Regions from separate parts of the Homo sapiens genome. Here regions 2 and 3 are each linked to region 1. The links are contacts of gene promoters, found by promoter capture Hi-C in blood cells and fetal thymus (Javierre and others, 2016). All regions are on one chromosome and are shown on one strand. The core of a region is centred on a gene start or on the middle of the fragment in contact, and the rest is flanking DNA. Distances in the headings are between cores, read along the strand shown. Region 1 holds the start of DYNC1H1 (dynein cytoplasmic 1 heavy chain 1). Region 2 holds the start of RCOR1 (REST corepressor 1). Region 3 holds the start of LOC105370680 (a long non-coding RNA gene).

Region 1 (4,097 bases), core at 836-3,335:
CAACAAACATCTTTCAAGAACAAAAAGCAAGCATGTTTGGTCCATTCATGAATCCTTGTACACTGATTGTTCGGGTTCTTTCAGTTCCCATCCACTTAGAAATAACAAACATGTTTCATTTTGAGCCTATCCTACAGGGCCGCAAATCCGGAGCCTGCAGTTTGTTCTCTTGGCCTGGGGCCAGGTTGCAGATGTTTGAGTCCCTTGGATCCCTGAGTGGCTGCGTCTCCCAGTCTGGTGCTGACTCATGGTGCAGCCAGCATGCAGCCTGCCCATCGGCCAGGTCCCTGCAGGTTTCTGAGTCTCAGATGGTGGATGGCCTATTCAGAGTTCACAGATCTGCACCTAATAGACTTTCCTCTTTGTCCCTCTTTCTACCCCTAAAGTACATGTGAGGGGAAACCCTCTGCATGGTGCCTAGCACGCAGTGAACACTCAGCGTTCGCTGTCAGTGGTGTGTTATTATTATTCATTACCATTAGGATCCTTGCACAAACTCATCGCAGTTGCCTATTTATTTTTTCCAGGAAGATTACTCGGAACTGCTTAGGCACATCACACCAGGGCGGACTGATGGAGAGCAGGAAGATGGGGTATTCATCTGTCCCCTCTTCCACATGCTCCTTAAAGACAAGAATCATCTGATTAGTCTCCGTGTTCCAGCAACCCCCTGGGACCCAGCAACCGGTAATTAGGCAAGGAATAAGCTTATTGTATGTTTCACAGTTTTTCAAAGATGATTTGGGAGAATCAAATCATACCATCATCATTCCACCAATCAGGACTCGGCACTCTGACAGTGCACTTTGATGTTTAAAAAAAACAAAAAAACCAAAAAAAAAAAAAACGCCATTGGCTTCCCTCTCTCCACCCAACTTAAGAAAGAAGTTATGAATGTGAACTTTCAAAGGCCAATTACTACCCCTTAGAAGAACCTACCATCTCTAAACTACAAAGATGGGCAGCCTGGATTCTATTATTTTTATTATTTTACAAAATTCTTAATTTTTAAATACACATAGATATAGGGTCTCGCTAGGTTGACCAGGCTGGTCTTGGAACTTCTGGCCTCAAGCAATCCTCCCATCTCAGCCTCTCAAAATGCTAGGATTACAGGTGTGAGCCACCGCACCCAGCTGGGCAGCCTGGATTCTGGCTCTTATGTAGTCATGGTGTAGGGGAGGAGGTCGTGGTGGGTCCGAACTAGGGGGAAACTTGGTGGGCAGGCAACCCAGCCCCTGCCTTGTACGGACCCAGATACTGAGGCCCACAGAATGACAGTGCCAGCTCTAGGGGGCTGGAGGAGAGCCATTGCTGGAGGTAGCTGTTCTCAGTAGGTCTCCCTCTTGGTCCTCACAGCGTCCTCGGGGACAATGATTTTTGTCATTAGGAACCAGATCCCATCACAGCTTGGCTTTACGTACAGTGAAGGTGTCATTCCTGGCTTAACCTTACACTGCCCCGAAGGCCCCCTCCCCAGCTGTCCGTTTCCAGCCTGGCAATGGGACTCTCTGAGCACGCCCCTCATCTCCTCCCCCTCTGAAAAGTATCCTCAATCTCCCGGTCTATATCTAATAACACATCTGTCGTGCCTATATTTTGGTACCTGATACGTAGTCATTCATTCATTCAATGAGAGAACATTTAATGAGAGGTTAAGGGGCTTAGAACAACGCCGGGCACAGGCTAAGCGCTCACTAAACGTTAGCTCTCGCCAATAACATCACTGATTCACTATAAAGTTTCTCTGGCTGTGTGCTATTCGCTGCGTCCACAGCAGTGAAGAAGACAGACGCAGCCCCTGACCAACCTCGCCAAGCCCGGGCGCCGAGCCAGGACGTTGAGCCAAGTCCCCATCTCCTAGGACTCGCAGTGCGGAGGCTGCGGGCCCCGACCAGCGCCGAGACTACAAGTCCCAGAAGGGCGCGCGGCGACATCGCCGGGCCCGCCCCCCGCGCACGCGCGGCGCCGTGACGCTAAGGCCGCGAGCGAGCGCGGGTGGCTGCGGCGGCTGCGGCCGGCGGGGCGGGGCGGGGCCACCTGGCAGTGGCTGCCTTTAGGGCGGAGCCGGCTCCCGCTCTCCTCAGTCTGCGGTGGGCTAGCGGACGGTCCGGCTTCCGGCGGCCGTTTCTGTCTCTTGCTGGCTGTCTCGCTGAGTCGCGGCCGCCTTCTCATCGCTCCTGGAAGGTCCCGAGCGCGACACCATGTCGGAGCCCGGGGGCGGCGGCGGCGAGGACGGCTCGGCCGGATTGGAAGTGTCGGCCGTGCAGAATGTGGCGGACGTGTCGGTGCTGCAGAAGCACCTGCGCAAGCTGGTGCCGCTGCTGCTGGAGGACGGCGGCGAGGCGCCGGCCGCGCTGGAGGCGGCGCTGGAGGAGAAGAGCGCCCTGGAGCAGATGCGCAAGTTCCTTTCGGACCCGCAGGTCCACACGGTGCTGGTGGAGCGCTCCACGCTCAAAGGTGCGGGGCCGCGGAGGGCAGGGTCGCCAGAGCCAGGCCTCGCGGAATGCAGGGCCTGCCAGGTCCTCCGGGGTCGCAGATGTCCCCGGGATGGGAGGAGCCCGGCAGCTGCAGATGACCCCTGGATGGGCAGAGCCCGGCGGCCGCAGACGTCCCGCCGGCCGGGTCCCCAGGGCCGCAGACGCCCCGCAGAGGCCGGCGCGGCGCCCGGGGCTCGCCCTCGCCACACCCACTGCCCGGCCCGGAGCCCCCAGGGCGCCCCGCTCCTGGTCGCGGGGAGGGGAAAGGGGTCCCCGTCTGCCGTCACCCAAAACAATGGGGTCGCTTTGTCTGCTCGGGCCTCTCAAGATGGCCGAGTTGGGTGGAGACAGCGTCTCCCTGGGCTGAGAGCGGGCGAGGCCGCATCCCTGCCTCCAGTGTCACATGAGCTTTTCGGTTTCGATTTGTGTCCAAGCCAAGTGGCCTTCGGGAGGGATGTGTCGGGGGCAGACCCGCGGAGCTGGGGGCAGCCGGGGTTCTGGTTCGGGAGGAGGTCGGGCGGGTGTCCCAGCCCTGCCTTGTGGGGACCCAGAGGCCGAGGCCCACAGAGCGACGGTGCCAGCCCCGGGCCTGCGAGCATCACTGTTGTAGGTGGATGCTCTCACAGCATCCTTGCTGAACGGGTGTATCCTGATTTTACACCTGAGGAAACTGAGGCTCAGGTTAAGTGATTTCACCCAAGGTCACCAGCTAATCTTAGTCCTGAGACTAGACTCAGTGTCTCAGCTCCCCATCCACTGCTTGTTTTCACTGATCATACCTCATATTTGTTTAATGCTTCGATGATGTTAATGATAACCCTGTAATATTTGAGTCTAATTTTACAGATTAAAAAAAAAAAAAAAGATTCAGGTTAGGCACCTAGTAGGGGGAAGAGGCTAGAGTTAGCGTGTTCCAGCTGTCTCCTCAAATAATGATCGCCCACCAGCAAGGTTACATTCATCTAAGTCTGGGGCTTGCCTGCAGGCAGGCTTTCTCATGGATTCATTACAACCACTTTGTAGCCCATTACAACCACTTTGGGTGTGGCGTGTCCATCTAAGAACCTAAGGATGATGTCCAAGGTTAGCCTCTAGGGATTGGAGATTGTCTAAAAATATTTGCCAACAAGCTTCTTAAAATTTCAAAAAACTGTATGGTTCTCTCAGTGAGAGACCCTGTACTGTCTGCCCCATCCTTAACACACACTGTGTTTCTGATGGTTTGTTTCTTTCAAAGGCTATTCTTACTCAGAAGATGCTTCCCTGTAGCCTTGGTTTCCTGCCAGAGATTAGCAGGGTGTAAAAGAATATTTTTTTCTTATATCCACGTGGAATGTTCAAGGCAAATAAACCATTTGAGCATATTTAGAGTATTAATGTTTTTGAGGGTTGTTTACTGTGATGTTTGGGATTATGTATTCCTAAGTGGAAGCCACAAAAGTTAAAAAAAAAAAATTTATCTACTCTTTTTTTTTTCCAAAAAACATATAGTCATTGTAGAAAATGTACTATACAGCTAAAGTAAAAATCACTGGGAATTGTTTGACCCAGATATAATCACTGTCAGCATTTTTGGTTTATGTCTTTGTGGTCATTTTTCAATGCATATTCGTCATT
Region 2 (4,097 bases), core at 976-3,475, 630 kb after region 1:
GGGACTCTCAGCGGGGTCCTTCAGATGGGGGGCCAGAGGCTGCGGGAGGCGTGCGCGGGCAGCAAGGGCAGGGGCCGCGGCCAAGGGTAGGGGGCGGGGAGGGCCGCGAACTCCTCGCCGCTGCCTGGAGAGATGGATCATGGGGCGTAGGGAGATGGCAAACCTCAAACCACGTACGGCGGGCGATACGCGTCAACCGAACCTCGCCAACGGAAGCCCGGAGCCGCCCCTCCCCGCTCCCCCGCCCCGCCGCCCCGGACGGACGGGCGCGCGGAGCCAACCCCGCTGCCGCTGGCTGTCCAAATCCCACCAGAGCCAATGGGAGCGCGAGGGGGGGCGGAGCCATCTCGCGTCAGTTGGGCTGCGCGCCCCCCTCCCCCGGCGCCCCTGCAGGCCCCGCCCCTGCCTCCTCCCCTCTCCGCTCGCTGCTCCCGGAGTAGTTGGTGCCAGTGAAGTGAGGGCGGCGATGAGAGCGAAAGTTGCGCTCGGCTCGTCGCTGGGGGCTTGAAGCGGCTCCGCGCTCTGCCCGTTTGGGCCTCCCCCGACTCGGACTCGCGCCCGTGGGCTCCCGCCGCGCCCGCCCGGCCCCGCGCCGGCCCCGCGCCCCCTCCCCCGTCTCGGCGCCCCCTCCTCAGGAGCCGCGGGTCCCCGCCACTTTCGCACGGCCCCGGCCCCCGCCGATGCCGGCCATGGTGGAGAAGGGCCCCGAGGTCTCAGGGAAGCGGAGAGGGAGGAACAACGCGGCCGCCTCCGCCTCCGCCGCCGCCGCCTCCGCCGCCGCCTCGGCCGCCTGCGCCTCGCCAGCCGCCACTGCCGCCTCGGGCGCCGCCGCCTCCTCAGCCTCGGCCGCCGCCGCCTCAGCCGCCGCCGCCCCCAATAATGGCCAGAATAAAAGTTTGGCGGCGGCGGCGCCCAATGGCAACAGCAGCAGCAACTCCTGGGAGGAAGGCAGCTCGGGCTCGTCCAGCGACGAGGAGCACGGTAGGTGGCAGCCGCCCCCGCGGCCCCGGGCCCCGCGCCCCGCGCCGCGCTGACCGCCGTATTCTGCTTCCCCCGCAGGTGGCGGTGGCATGAGGGTCGGACCCCAGTACCAGGCGGTGGTGCCCGACTTCGACCCCGGTGAGTAGCGGCCCCGGCCGGCCGGCGGCGGGGATGAGCGGGAGCCCCGGGTCCCCGGCGAGCCCGAGGGGGCGGGAGCCCGCCGACAACTTTCTTTTTGTGCGTTCGCCCTGCCGTCCGTGGGGAGAACAGCAGGGCGAGGACGAGGAGGCGCACACGCACACGAGTGTTCTGCAAACGTGCCTCTGCACCCGGGGGAGGCCAGGTCGCCCCCAGCAGGGCCGGCGCCGCTGCCCCCTTGCGCCTCCGAGGACTGCGGGTGGCGTCGGAGGTGGCCACACCTGGCCTGGGGGCGCTGGGGGTCCCTGCGTCCAGGTGAGCTGCGCCTCGGCCAGGGGTAAGGGTGGCAGTGCCGGAGAGTTAGTGTCCTGCGAGCGCCCCGGACTTAGGAGGTCCCCAGAGACCCCTTTCTCGGAACCCTTCCCAAAGGCTGCTCCCCACGCCTTTGCTCCTCCTCTCAGCCTCTGGGCTCTTGCTGGCTCCTGACTGCCCTCCCATCCAGAAGGCGAGTAGAAGAACGACCCCCCAAAACCAGTCAATAAAAGAAGTGTGTTTTCCAGAGGGCGCCTGCCTGGGGAAGAGAGTCTCGCGTGTGGCAGTTGGATTTTAGGACCTATTTGTAAATGTGTGTATTTCCTTTTTTTTGGAGGAAGAGATTGTGAAATTGAGAAGCATCAGAAGCTTTAGCCTAACAAATGCTTTTCACCTACAAGAAAGCCCTACACCCTAGAATGGAACACTTAGTTCCCTGGCTGCTATTCTGTGTAGAAGCAAATTTAAAGTGGTACAAGAAAAAAAATCCGATCAGACAAAGGAATTCGTCAGATTTTAATGCATGAGATTCTAGCCAGTGTCTGTATGAGACTGTCTTTAAAGGTTGTTGGTATGGAAAATGTTTGAAAGAACGTAGGATTTATTTCAGAAATAAAATTCAAAAGAGCATCTTGTAAAGCTGGAGTTAACAATCCTCCATGGTTGGAGGGCTTTAGAGCTGGGGTTCTGTATGTGGGTTATACCACTAGTTTATTTGAAAAGATAAACGCATACATGTTTTTTCCTTGGAAACAAGACTGCAGAAAATTGCAATGATCTAGTCCTTGAAAAAGGCGATTGCTCTCAAGCTGTTATTAAGGTACTAAACTGCACTTTGAAGTGAAAATACATAGAGGTCCTAGGTGAGCTCTTGGACACTCTGGAAATAAATGACTTCCTAAATTGGCCTTCTAAATTTTGATTTGTTGACGTAAATCTGTTAAATTTATTTGTCTAATACTCGCGTTTGTGTTTCTTTTAAGTCCATGTTAGTGTTTTTGATAGTTTCCTCTTCTCCCCAATTCTTTTTTTTTTTTTTGGTAGTCACTTCTCGTTTATGAGTGACAGGATAGAACTAGGTGGCCAGGCTATATCTCTTGTATGCTTGGCTCCTCCGTTCCTTGGTTGGCCACCAGGGGAAGCATACTGTTTTTTGGTTACAGTTGACCCTGTCTTCATTTTGTAGGTCAAGTCTATCTTTGCTTTAAAACACAGAACATAAAGCTTGTTACCAAATTTTCCTAATGTATTATTTTTAAAAATCGACTTCCACAAATCTTTGAGTAAGTTGGTAGGCTTTTTGATACATTTTTGTTAACATAAATTTTGAAAACTTTATGTAGATGTGTTGGATGTGACTAAGGAAAAGGGCATATTTGTCAACAACAGGAATTAGATTTCTGACATTCATCGAAATATTGACATCAGCTCTGCATTGTTAGTAATGAGTTTGACTTCTTTGGAGTTATACTTTTCTTTGAAACAGCAAATATAATATTTTGAACTGTCTTTGGGCTTTTTGTTGGAATAGATATGAGCATAAACTTGCTAGTGACCAGCTATTCTAAAATGGAAAACATTTATCAGATTGCAGTAGCTCACACCTGTAGTCCCAACACTTGGGGAGGCCAAGGCTGGAGGATCTCTGGAGCTCAGGAGTTGGAGACCAGCCTGGGCAATGTAGTCAGACTCTGTCTCAACAAAAAATAAAAAAATTAGCTGGGCATGGTGGCATGTGCCTGTAGTTTCAGCTACGGGGGGGTCTGAGGCTGGAGGATCTCTGGGAAGTCAAGGCTGCAGTGAGCAGTGATCTGGCCATTGCACTCCAGCCTGGGTGACAGAGTGAGACCCTGTCTCAGAAATAAAAAGGAAAACATCTAACTGTTTTGCTGCATAGTCTTGCTGCCAATTGGTTGAGTATTGATATTAAAATTTCCAAATTTCTTTTTTTTTTTTTTGAGACGGAGTCTTGCTCTGTCCCTCAGGCTGGAGTGCGCAGTGGTGTGATCTCAGCTCACTGCAAGCTCCGCCTCCCAGGTTCACGCCATTCTCCTGCCTCAGCCTCCAGAGTAGCAGGGACTACAGGCGCCCACCAACACTCCTGGCTAATTTTTTGTATTTTTAGTGGAGACGGGGTTTCACCGTGTCAGCCAGGATGGTCTTGATCTCCTGACCTCGTGATCCGCCCGTCTCGGCCTCTCATAGTGCTGGGATTACAGGCATGTGCCACCGCGCCCGGCCCCAAATTTCTTTATTTTGTGTTTGTTTTAATCTGGAAAGGAATCTAACTGGTGTAAAGTAATTTCAAACCTTGTTTTGCCAACCTAAGCAGGGGGACACAGTTTTCTAGATATGGCAGAAAATTGAGACTTTACTATTTCCTAGTGGTTTTTTATGTGTCTTTTCATTTAACTTAAAAGCTTAAGGGGAAGGAAGGCTTCCATTTTGGAATAGAAATGATACAACATTTTTTTTTTTTTTAATACGGAGTTTCACTCTTGTTGCCCACGCTGGAGTGCAATGGCGTGATCTGGGCTCACCGCAACCTCTGCCTCCTGGGTTCAAGCAATTTTCCTGCCTCATCCTCCTAAGTAGCTGGGATTACAGGCATGCGCCACCATGCCTGGCTAATTTTTTGTATTTATAGTAGAGACAGGGTTTCTCCA
Region 3 (4,097 bases), core at 845-3,344, 550 kb after region 1:
CCGTCTTTACTAAAAATACAAAAAAAAATTAGCCAGGCATGGTGGTGGGCACCTGTAATCCCAGCTACTCGGGAGGCTGAAGCAGGAGAATCACCTGCACCCGGGAGGCAGAGGTTGCAGTGAGCCGAGATGGCGCCACTGCACTCCAGCCTGGGTGACAGAACGAGACTCCATCTCAAAAAAAAAAAAAAAAAAAAAAAGAATTTAGCTGAATTTTGTATTTTCTTTCTTTCTTTTTTTTTTTTTGAGACGGAGTCGCCCAGGCTGGAAGCTCTGCCTCCCCGGGTCACGCCATTCTCCTGCCTCAGCCTCCCGAGTAGCTGGGACTACAGGCGCCCGCCACCACGCCCGGCTAATTTTTTTTGTATTTTTAGTAGAGACGGGGTTTCACCATGTTAACCAGGATGGTCTCGATCTCCTGACCTCGTGATCCGCCCGCCTAGGCCTCCCAAAGTGCTGGGATTACAGGCGTGAGCCACCGCGCCCAGCCTTATATTTCATGTCTATTTCATTATTAAAGCTTTGAAGAGAATACAAGTGCATACCAAGTACTAGGGAGATAGAGTCACTGCTGCATCTTTAATAAGGAAAACCTGGAAACTACCTAGGTGACCATCAGAAGGGGTATGGCTGACATGGTCATGGCGAAGCCTGCTGTGACTTTGCTGCAGCTTGAAGAGCAGTGAGTCAGAAGGGGCAACGGAGACCGGAGGGCCTGGCCCGGCCCAGGTCGCACAGTGCAGGGCAGTCCCAAGGGTGACAGCGGCCAGTGCGCGGGCGCGCCCTCTACCCACATGCCCCGACCCGCCGGGTCCCTGCGTCCGCAAGATCACTTTCCGGGCCCGAGGCGGGGAAGGGGCCGGGACATGGGTTGGGGACTGAGCGCCGCTGAACTGCGCCATGGTCGGAGAGAGTTTGCAGGGGCGGAGGTGTTCCCTGGTCGGACCCTGCCGACCGCCCTCGGGGAGAGGCGAGGCCCTGGCCCGTGACGGCTGGGTCCGGGCCTCAGTATCCCCATCCGCTCAGGGGAAAGCGGGCGGCAGCCCGGAGCCCGACCCCAGCGCCCAGCGCGGCCCGACACCGCCCCCTGGCGGCCGCGGACGTCACTGCGACCCGCAGCCTCCGCCGAAGCCGGGCGAGGGACCCCCGACCCGGGCGCACCAGGCTGCGGGTGCGGGGGCGGGGACGCCCAGCGCCCTGGCCCCGGGGGCGGGGTTCGCGGGCTGAGTGCCCACTCCGCTCTCCCCTCGCCCCGCGGCCTCGGCGGGCCCCCCGCCCACCAGGGTCTCCACCTCCCCCCGGGTGAAATGGCCACAGTCCCGCCATCCGCGCCGCCGCCACTGCGCCTGCCCCCGGCTGGGCCGATCGGAGGTCCCGGCGGGGCGGGCGAGGCAGGTGGTCCGGCGGGCCCCTTCCGGGTTCCCCTCCCCCAGCCGGAGTCCGCGGACCGCGCTGGGCGCAGGGAGGGGGCTGTGCGCGCCTCCGCTTCCCGGCCTTCCCAGCGGGGACGAGCGCCGACCCCCGCCCAGTCGGGAGACGCCCTCAAGGTCCCAGGCTCTGCTTCTGCCCGCCCGCGGCCCGCGGACTGCGGGTGACAGGGTCCCCGGTCCGAGCCCCATCTCCCTAGGAGAGCGGACCCCAGCGCTCCTGTACCCTCCACCTGGTGGCCGTCCACGCAGCCCGGCCTGCTCGCGCGTCCCAACTGCCACTTCCCTTGCCTTCCCCAGCCGCACGTCTACCAGGCTCCTGTGTGTCTGCCTGGCTGGGACTTCCGCATACTCCAGGCCCACTTTACAGGTGCAGATGCTGAGGCCAGAGCGCCTCAGGAGCTGGATGCAGGGGAGAGCGTGCGGGCAGTGTGGGGAGAGACTCGGCCTAGCCTTCCATTGCAGCTCCTATCCCTGCTGCGCCACCCCCTCGGCCTGTCATCTGTCCCCATCCAGGAACCCCCAGGACACTGTCAGCAGAGCCCACTGAGGGTCCAGTGCTGTCCAGGTGGCGGCATCAGGATTCCCAGGAGCCAGCCCTCACTATGCCACCCTATGTCCGTATGTCCAGCAGGGATCTGAGGGCCTGGAGGGGTGCGGAGGCCCTGCCAGGAGATGCTTTCCTCAGTGCCCATTGTGAAGGGAGCAGAGGGCTGAACTGGAAGGGGCTTCCTGGCCCCAGGAGGGCAGTGATTAGGTAAACTGCCCACCCTTCAAAAGTGATGGACAGGAAGGGGAAAGGTGGAGGGTGGAGGAGCTGCAGGTTATGCCGGTGACCCCTGAGAGACAAGGAGATCTCCACAGTGTATCAGTTCTCTTCTGCTGTGCAACAAACAACCCTGCCAGGGTGGCTTTAAACAGCAATGATGTAGGATTGTTTGCGGTTCTCTGGATTGACTGGATGGCTCTTTTGCTTCCTGTGGCGCCCGCTGGGATCACTCTACAGCTGTAGGGATCTGGAGGCCCAACTGGAGTGAAATGTCCAAGTGGTTCATCCACATGGCTACAGTTGGTGCTGGTTGCCAGTGGGAGCTCGGCTGCCTCCAGCATGGGCTGCCACCCTGCTTCGGTGCTCCTTTGCTTGGCTTCTCCACGTGGCTAACTTGGTCTTCCTCACAGCATGGCAGGACAAGCCCCAGTGTGCAAGAGCTCATTAAACCTCTGCTTCCATCATGCTTTCTAATACCTCATTCTCCAAGACAAGCCCAGAGTTCACGTGGAATGAGACTCACAAAGGCATGAATCTCAGGAAGCCTGGTTTATTATTATGGGCATCACAGCTTAGCACAATGATGGGGAAGCAGTGGGGACAGATCGTAGACAGCAGACCTTCCAGGGCCAGAACAAGCAGGGAAGGCTCCTGGAGGAGGATGGGACTGGCTAAGGAGGGGCTGGGAACTCTCTTCCTTCTCCCTGAAGCTCCAAATCCTCAGGGCCTGGGGAGGTTGGAGGAGCACCAACCACTAAATCAAGATACAAACGCTCAAGGCTCAAACTCCTGAACTCAAGGCGGATCACCTGAGTTCAGGAGTTTGAGACCAGCCTGGGAAATATAGTGAGACCTCATCTCTACAAAAAATAAAAATAAAAAAGTTAGCCGGGCGTGGCCAGGCGCGGTGGCTCATGCCTGTAATCCCAGCACCTTGGAAGCCCAAGACAGGCAGATTGCCTGAGGTTAGGAGTTTGAGACCAGCCTGGCCAACGTGGTGAAACCCCATCTCTGCAAAAAATACAAAAAAAAAAAATTAGCTGGGCTTGATAGCAGGTGCCTGTAATCCCAGCTACTCGGGAGGCTGGGGCAGGAGAATTGCTTGAACCCGGGAGGCAGAGGTTGCAGTGAGCCGAGATGGTGCCATTGCACTCCAGCCTGAGTGACAGAGTGAAACTCCATCTCAAAAATAAAATAAAATAAAATAAATTAGCCGGGCATGATGGTGCCTGCCTGTGGTCCCAGATACTCAGAAGGCTGAGGTGGATGGATCACCTGAGCCTGGGAGGTCAAGGTTGCAGTGAGCCGTGATCATGCCACTGCACTCCAGCCTGGGTGACAGAGCAAGACCCTGTCTCACAAAAAAAAGAAAAGAAAAAAATCCCAACATACCGACTGTTGACAAGAACATGGAGCAACTGGAACTCTCATACAATCCCCCAGTGGGAATGCAAAATGATGCAACAACTTGGAAAAGCTTGGCCATTTCCTAAACTCATCATAGGAACCAGCAGTTCCACTCCTAGGTACCTGCCCAAGAAATGAAAACAATATTCTTTTTTTTTCTTTTATTTTCTTAGAGATAGGATCTCACTCTGTCACCCAGGCTAGAGTGCAGTGGCATGATCACAGCTCACTGCAGCCTCAACCTCCCAGGCTCAAGTGATCCTTCCACCTCAGCCTCTCAAGTAGCTGGGACTACAGGGAGCGACACAACACCTGGCTGATTTTTTTATTTTTATTTTTGTGGAAACAGGGTCTCACTATGTTGCCCAGGCTGAGTCGAACTGGGTTCAAGCAATCCTCCCGCCTCAGCCTCCCAAAATGCTGGGATTACAAGCGTGAGCCACCATGCCTGGCCTGAAAACATCTCTAACACAAAGATCTGTATGTGAACGTTC

What was found. The method cuts DNA at HindIII sites, captures the fragments that hold promoters and counts their contacts. A CHiCAGO score of 5 or more calls a contact.
Region 2: a contact is called between a fragment that was not itself captured here and the fragment with the promoter of DYNC1H1 in region 1, in 1 of 17 cell types (fetal thymus). The highest score is 7.3, in fetal thymus.
Region 3: a fragment that was not itself captured here is called in contact with the fragment with the promoter of DYNC1H1 in region 1 in 3 of 17 cell types (fetal thymus, naive CD8 T cells and total CD4 T cells); the score reaches 7.3 in fetal thymus.

What each region holds. Positions count from the first base shown.
Region 1 is chr14:101,962,488-101,966,584 of GRCh38, forward strand. It overlaps DYNC1H1 (dynein cytoplasmic 1 heavy chain 1), which reads left to right and starts at 2,086. Exons shown (of 78, transcript NM_001376.5): 1 at 2,086-2,460. The coding sequence starts at 2,205. RefSeq lists enhancers at 1,639-1,778, 1,823-2,433, 2,434-3,043 and silencers at 1,919-2,078, 2,569-2,778. The HindIII fragment of the contact is 2,903 bases long and covers 706-3,608 here.
Region 2 is chr14:102,592,207-102,596,303 of GRCh38, forward strand. RCOR1 (REST corepressor 1) reads left to right here and starts at 443. Exons shown (of 12, transcript NM_015156.4): 1 at 443-981; 2 at 1,060-1,119. The coding sequence starts at 681. RefSeq lists silencers at 1-749, 810-1,419. The HindIII fragment of the contact is 855 bases long and covers 1,799-2,653 here.
Region 3 is chr14:102,515,914-102,520,010 of GRCh38, forward strand. It overlaps LOC105370680 (a long non-coding RNA gene), which reads left to right and starts at 1,554. Exons shown (of 4, transcript XR_944239.2): 1 at 1,554-1,797. RefSeq lists silencers at 893-942, 963-1,172 and an enhancer at 1,663-1,782. The HindIII fragment of the contact is 3,153 bases long and covers 519-3,671 here.